Linked DNA regions of Homo sapiens: region 2 is linked to region 1. Evidence: promoter capture Hi-C in human tissues and cell types (Jung and others, 2019). All regions are on one chromosome and are shown on one strand. Each heading gives the region's core, a stretch centred on a gene start or on the middle of the fragment in contact. The rest is flanking DNA. Distances are from core to core; before and after follow the strand shown. Region 1 holds the start of FRRS1 (ferric chelate reductase 1). Region 2 has its middle 150 kb from the start of LINC01307.

Region 1 (3,203 bases), core at 342-2,841:
GTCTTGCTTCTAATCTTTAAGCTGTCCTTGTTCATTCCTGGGCATATGCCAAACTAACTTTGGGAAGGAATCCAGTTCATGTTTTGACTCTGAAACAAAATTGGTAGTAGCCCTTTCCTGAATAGACCCCCTTCTTGCCTGGGGACCAGTCTGCCTTTGCAGGACCAACAAATTAGCTACAAGATTAGAAATTATGGTTTAGGGGTCATGCAGCCTCTGGCTCCAAGAGTCTGAACCTCCCCAAATTGCTCCTGGGGATAACATCACTATTGTAAAACCTAAGATCAGTGCTTGAGATATTTTGCAGAGCCTGGACTCGGTGGATCAGCTGATGCCACACAGACCGGTAATTGGGCTCACCCAGTTCTGCCATCCCACCCAGGAACAGAAGACAGCAAGAAAACCTCACGTCGACCCCCCATGATTCCATCTCCAATCTGACCAATTAGCACTCCCACTTCCCAAGCCCCTACCCGCCAAATTATCTTTAAAAATTCTGATCTCCGAATCCTGGGGAGACTGTGTTGAGTAATAATAGAACTCCGGGCTGGGCGCGGTGGCTTATGCCTGTAATCTCAGCACTTTGGGAGGCTGAGGCAGGTGGAATCACTTGAGGTCAGGAGTTCCAAACTAGCCTGGCCAACATGGTGAAACCCTGTCTCTGCTAAAATACAAAAATTAGCCGGGCGTGGTGGCGGGCGCCTGTAGTCCCAGCTACTGGGGAGGCTGAGGCAGGAGAATCGCTTGAACCTAGGACGGGGAGGCTGCAGTGAGCCGAGATCATGCCACCGCACTCCAGCCTGGGCCACAGACAGAGACTCCGTCTCAAAACAAAACAAAACAAAACAAACAAACAAACAAAACAAAAAACTCCGGTCTCCTGCACAGCCAGCTCTGCGTGAATTACTCTTTCTCCATTGCGATTCCCCTGTCTTGATAAATCGGCTCTGTCTAGACAGCGGGCAAGGTGAACCCACTGGGCAATTACAATGTCACTCAAGGTCTGAAATGGAATGTTTAATATTTTCAATTACATTAAAGAGAAGAAAAAAAGTAAAAAACAGGAAAACAAAAAACAAAATAAAAACAAAGATTGTTAAAAATTCAATTACATTGTCTTTTCCTAGCCCTAAAATTTTTCTTTTGCAAAAGAGTCTTGTGAAACAGATTAAAGGCTTAAAAAGAAACAAAACTCCTAAATTTCAGGGGTAATTTGCAAAATAAAAGATTTCTTTTGCATTATATCATTCACACTGCAGAAAGGTTTCGGTTCTATGCAATCTGATCTTTTTCCACTTTTTAAAAGTTAATTTGCTTTTACTTAGCACTATTATAGAACAGGTATTTTCAAATAGTTTTGCAATTAAACACAAAAACTATAATTTTTGTGGCGAAGTAGGTACTAGTTGGCAAACACTGTTCCTTAGTGTAAAACAGAATTCTAAGTTTTCAGAAATGGAGTCCTAAAACTAGCACTGGTCTTGCAAATCAAGTTCTGCAGCTTAGTTTGGGAAAGGTTCCCTTTTGGCTCAAGGCTTAACTGGCTCCACCCAGCTGCTGAAATGTGATACAAGTTGTAACAAAACCGGAAGTTGGTTAGGCTGCCTTCGCTTCTCAAGGTAAGTGTCACGTCTTTTTCCTTAATGTCAAAGCTCTTTGTAAAGCGTTAAAAATCAAATCCAGCTTAGCGACAGACTGGAGAGCGAGTGCCTGTGCTGACCAGGGCAGTCGGCCAGGCAGAACGGGTGCTGTATTCCGAAACTATGTTCTGGAGCTTGAATTGAGCTAATGAGTGTTCACTAACGAGTTAGGTTAATATGTCCTGTGACTTTGACTAACAAGCTTTAATTCCAAGATATGGGTGGTTATAAGTAGAGACGTGTTTGGGATCCTGAAAATCATTGACTTTATTCTTGCAGGAGTTTTTTTTTTGTTTTTAATTTTAAATTTAAAACTGTAGGAACTCTTTTTTTATATTTAAAGCTAGTGGCATGGTTACCTATATCAGGGTCACTTAGAACCTTATTTGGTTTTTAAAGTGGCTTTTTATCTAGAACTTTTAGTCCCCTTACCCTCCCACTCCCTAGCCCTGGTGTGTCGTTAAAATTTCAGAAAGACTCCAGGGTGGCAAGGTGTTATCACTGCACTTATTTTTGTGTGTGCTTGTCATACTGCCCTAAAGGGTAAAGGGGATTTTTCAAATTGTAAATGTGTTATTAGGAATATTTCTTAACATAGCTAAACTTTTCAGTTCAGATATTTTCATTTGCTTCTGTATTTTTATTTTTTATTTTTATTTATTTATTTATTCATTTATTTTTGAGACGGAGTCTCGCTCTGTCCGCCAGGCTGGAGTGCAGTGGCGCGATCTCGGCTCACTGCAAGCTCCGCCTCCCGGGTTCAAGCGATTCTTCTGCTTCAGCCTCCTGAGTATACTGCTGGGATTACAGGCGCCCGCCACCACGCCCGGCTAATTTTTTGTATTTTTAGTAGAGACGGGGTTTCACTGTGTTGGCAAGGATGGTCTCTATCTCCTGACCTCGTGATATGCCCGCCTCCGCCTCCCAAAGTGCTGGGATTACAGGCTTGAGCCACCGCGTCTGGCCTATTTATTTATTATTTTCGAGACGGAGTGTTGCTCTTGTGGCCCAGGCTGGAGTGCAACGGCGGGATTTCGGCTCACTGCAACCTCTGCCTCCCGGGTTCAAGCAATTCTCCTGCCTCAGCCTCCTGAGTAGCTGGGATTACAGGCAGGCACCACCACACCCGGCTAATTTTGTATTTTTAGTAGAAACGGGGTTTCTCCATGTTGGTCAGTCTGGTTTCGAACTCCCAGCGTCAGGTCATCTGCCTGCCTCGGCCTCCCAAAGTGCTGGGATTACAGGCGTGAGCCACCGCGCCCAGCCACTTCTGTATTTTTAAAAAAGTGGTAAGATTTGAGTATTATACTGGGATAGAACTGAAGTTGGGGGCTTAATTTGATCTATCAGCTTATTGAAAACAAAGACCTTTTAAGAGATGGTTTTGTTAGGTTGGAGAAGTGAGTTTTAGTTCGTCATTTAGTTAGCCAGTATGTTGATTTTTTTGGTGAAGTGTACTCTCTGTTTCACACCTGTCAGCTTTTTTAATATTGGATTTTCTCAAAATTCACATAACAATCACACTGTATGAGTACTGTTTTGAAGGTTGTCTGCTAGTCAGAA
Region 2 (3,203 bases), core at 428-2,927, 1.7 Mb before region 1:
TTCCCTTCAAGAAGGAGAGCCTAATTTTCTTCCCATTGAATGTGGGTAGACTTAGTAACGTGTCTAATGAATAGAATACAGCTGAAATAATGGTGTATCACTGCTAAAATTAGTTTTAAAAAGACTGAAGCTTTTTATAATTTGAATCAGTCTCTCTCTCTCTCTCTTTCTGTCTCTCATATATCACTCACTATGGGTGGAAGCCAGCTGCCATGTTGCTTGAACTACCCCAGAGAAAGAGATGCACGTAGTGAAGAACTGAAGTCTCCTGACAACAACCATGTGAGTGAGCCTGGAGGTGGATTCTTCAATCCCTTCAAGTGGCTACAACTCCAGCTAACATCTTGACTGCAACCACATGGGAGACAATAAGTCAGAAGTTACTACCTATGACACTCTGATTCCTGACCTTCAGAACTGTGTGAGATAATAAATGTTTATTGTTCTAAGATACTAATTTTGAGGATAATTTATTGCATGGCAATAGATAACTAATACAATTATATGAGTCATCAGCTGCTCCTAGATTTGGGCAAAATATTTCAGGTTTAATAAATTTCCCATCACATTTAAAATACCTTTATTCTCACAAAATCAAATAGTTTAAAAATGAACTCTTATTTTAGGATTTTACCTATTTCTAATTTCTTTGAATTAATAGGTACAGAAAAATATTCCTAGTCCCGTTAAGACTGAACACATGGGCAGGAAGTATTCTTAACCACAATATAACTTAACACAGGAACAGGATATTATTGGGGGGTTTCAATTCTCAGCCCCTGGAGTGAACAAACTATAAGGTGGGCCTCATGACCCCCACTTCCTGATATTCATGCCTTGTGACCCATGACTTGCTCTTAACTGGTTGAATAATGCAAAGGTGATGGGATAAGAGTATAATATTCCTCTTGCTAAATTTTGTCCCTTGTTAACTTTAAGGAAGAAAACACCTTTGGTTGAGTGGCAAGACACTAGTCTCCAGCTGATAGCCAGCAAGAAACTGAAGTCCTCGGTCCAGCTACCCACTAGGAATGAATGCTGCCAGTAATCCTGTGCACTTAGAAGCAGATTGTTCCGCAACTGGACATCAAGTGAGACTGTAGCCTCAACCAAAATTGAGAATTTAATGCTGGGAGACCGTAGAGCAGGGGACCCAGCTAAGCCACTCCTAGATTTCCTAGATCCCACAGAAAGCATGAGGTAACAAATGTGTGTCATTTTAAGCCTCCAAATTTGTGGTAATACTTGAACACAGCAGCAGAAAACTAACACAGTAACCCATTAGATCATGCTTCTTCCTAAGATGAAAGATAGGGCATTATCTGTGCATTCAGTTCCATACTGCTGGATGACTTGTTTTAGTTGTGTGTGGACCTTCTGATGGTAATCATTCCAACACCAGTTAAGGGTCAGGTTTGCTTATTCTTTTGGTGGAAAATGCATTTATTGGATCATTTGATGGGACAGTGACCCCCCCACACACACACACAGCATTTAAGCCTCTAAATACCGTATATTTGATCACTGAAAAATGGAAATGCTAACTGAAGGATAGTCATCAAAACTTGTAGTCCATTCACGATAAGGGAGTCAAGGCTATCCAAATTTAACCAAGAGAAAAGAGCTCATTCCCAAACTAAACCAATGAGACAAGTAACCTAATTGTATCATTTCTTTTTCTTGTTGTTGTTTCCTGGATATTTTAGTTGTATGAGAGATCCTAGAGAGGTCTGTAGGGATGTAAGTACAACAGTCTTCTAGGACAGCATGCAATTGATCTCATATGCCAGTATCCTAAGCATTTGGTACCACCACCTGTCTAATTTCAGGATGCTCTCCTGCAAGTCTCACAGGCTCAATGGCATTGTCTAGCTGTCCTTCTATACTTTGAACCATTTATTGTAGGATTTTCTAGTTTTGGGGCTTTTGTAAAGTATAAATTGAAGAAGCTTGGTGGCAGAGGAAAGCTGTCCAAAATTCTCTTTCAATGGTTAACAGTTTGAAAGAAGTTTTTAAAATTGAGACCAGTTTTTCTCATTCTTAAGTTAAATTAATCTAAATATGTGTTTTCTTCTGAGAATAAAAATCAAAGGACCAAAATGGACCTTGTGTGATATCAGGGACTATTCCAAAGGCAGCCATTAAACTGCCAAGATAAGCTATCTCTAAAAAATTAACAGATATAGTCAATAAGCTTTTGTGTTACAAGCCCAATACCTACCAATGATTTGTAATAACCTACTAATGATTTATTTTTGGCTGCTATACCCTAAGGCGTTGCCATACAGAATGGCAGTGTCTTAATACCACTCATCCAGAATGGTCCTGCGCCAGGTGATGAAATTTGTCATACAGCAAACATCAGGTAGATCTAAAGCAGAAAACTTAGGGTTGTATAAGTGGCATGCTTTTCTTATAAGATCTGAAAATGCGAAACAGCCTCTGAACATATACCATCTGCTCTCTAGCTCTTTTCCAACCTATAACTCTAGGAAAGTTCTATGGCAAAGTCTAGCTTCTGTGAAGGGCCCCAGTTGTAGTCTCTTTGGGGAAAAGAACCTGCATTTGTAGGTATAATGGACATAGGGACTGTTAACAGCAATTACCTCTACGAAGTCAGACCAGATGAGAGAAAACAGTACAGTCAAGAAAACTTTTCTAATATGCACAAATCTGCATCATTTATGATATGATATTTTAGCTGAAACAAATTCAGAAACCAATAAGTGTAAGATATTACCTCTTTAAAATGTGACATTTCCTTATTCATGACTAAGTAAAACTATACCTTATAGGTGACTTGTTTTTTCTTCATTTCCTATTCCCATTATAGTCAATAGAGACTGTTTAATGTGTATGCAGGTCACAGTGGCTCTTCAACTAAAACATTGAAGTAATGGAGGAAAAGATGTTTTCTAAGCTTAAAATAAGCATGTAATTATTCAATTCCACTACTCAATTTTCAAGTATAGACACATATTGGAAGCTCAATTTTCACCAAGAATTTTTTTTCTATTGAAGCTCTTTCTGGACATGTTTAGTCTTCTGCTCTCTAAACATGAATATTCAAAGAAAACACTTTTATTTTGTGTTGTCACATCTTTTTATGGAAAATGACTGGTCTTAAATTATCTCAGACAGAGCAAAACCCTGTAGACACTAAATAATAACATACTTAAGATAGTAGGTTTTAAATTCAACAG

The links. The method cuts DNA at HindIII sites, captures the fragments that hold promoters and counts their contacts. A contact is called where the count stands out against the background at its distance.
Region 2: a fragment that was not itself captured here is called in contact with the fragment with the promoter of FRRS1 in region 1 in 1 of the 25 tissues and cell types used here (lymphoblastoid cells).

The regions. Positions count from the first base shown.
Region 1 is chr1:99,765,023-99,768,225 of GRCh38, reverse strand. FRRS1 (ferric chelate reductase 1) reads left to right here and starts at 1,591. Exons shown (of 17, transcript NM_001361041.2): 1 at 1,591-1,619. The HindIII fragment of the contact is 12,687 bases long and covers 1-2,579 here.
Region 2 is chr1:101,474,327-101,477,529 of GRCh38, reverse strand. No RefSeq gene overlaps it. Among named protein-coding and RNA genes, the nearest start is that of LINC01307, 150 kb to the right of the region's middle. The HindIII fragment of the contact is 3,779 bases long and covers 1-3,203 here.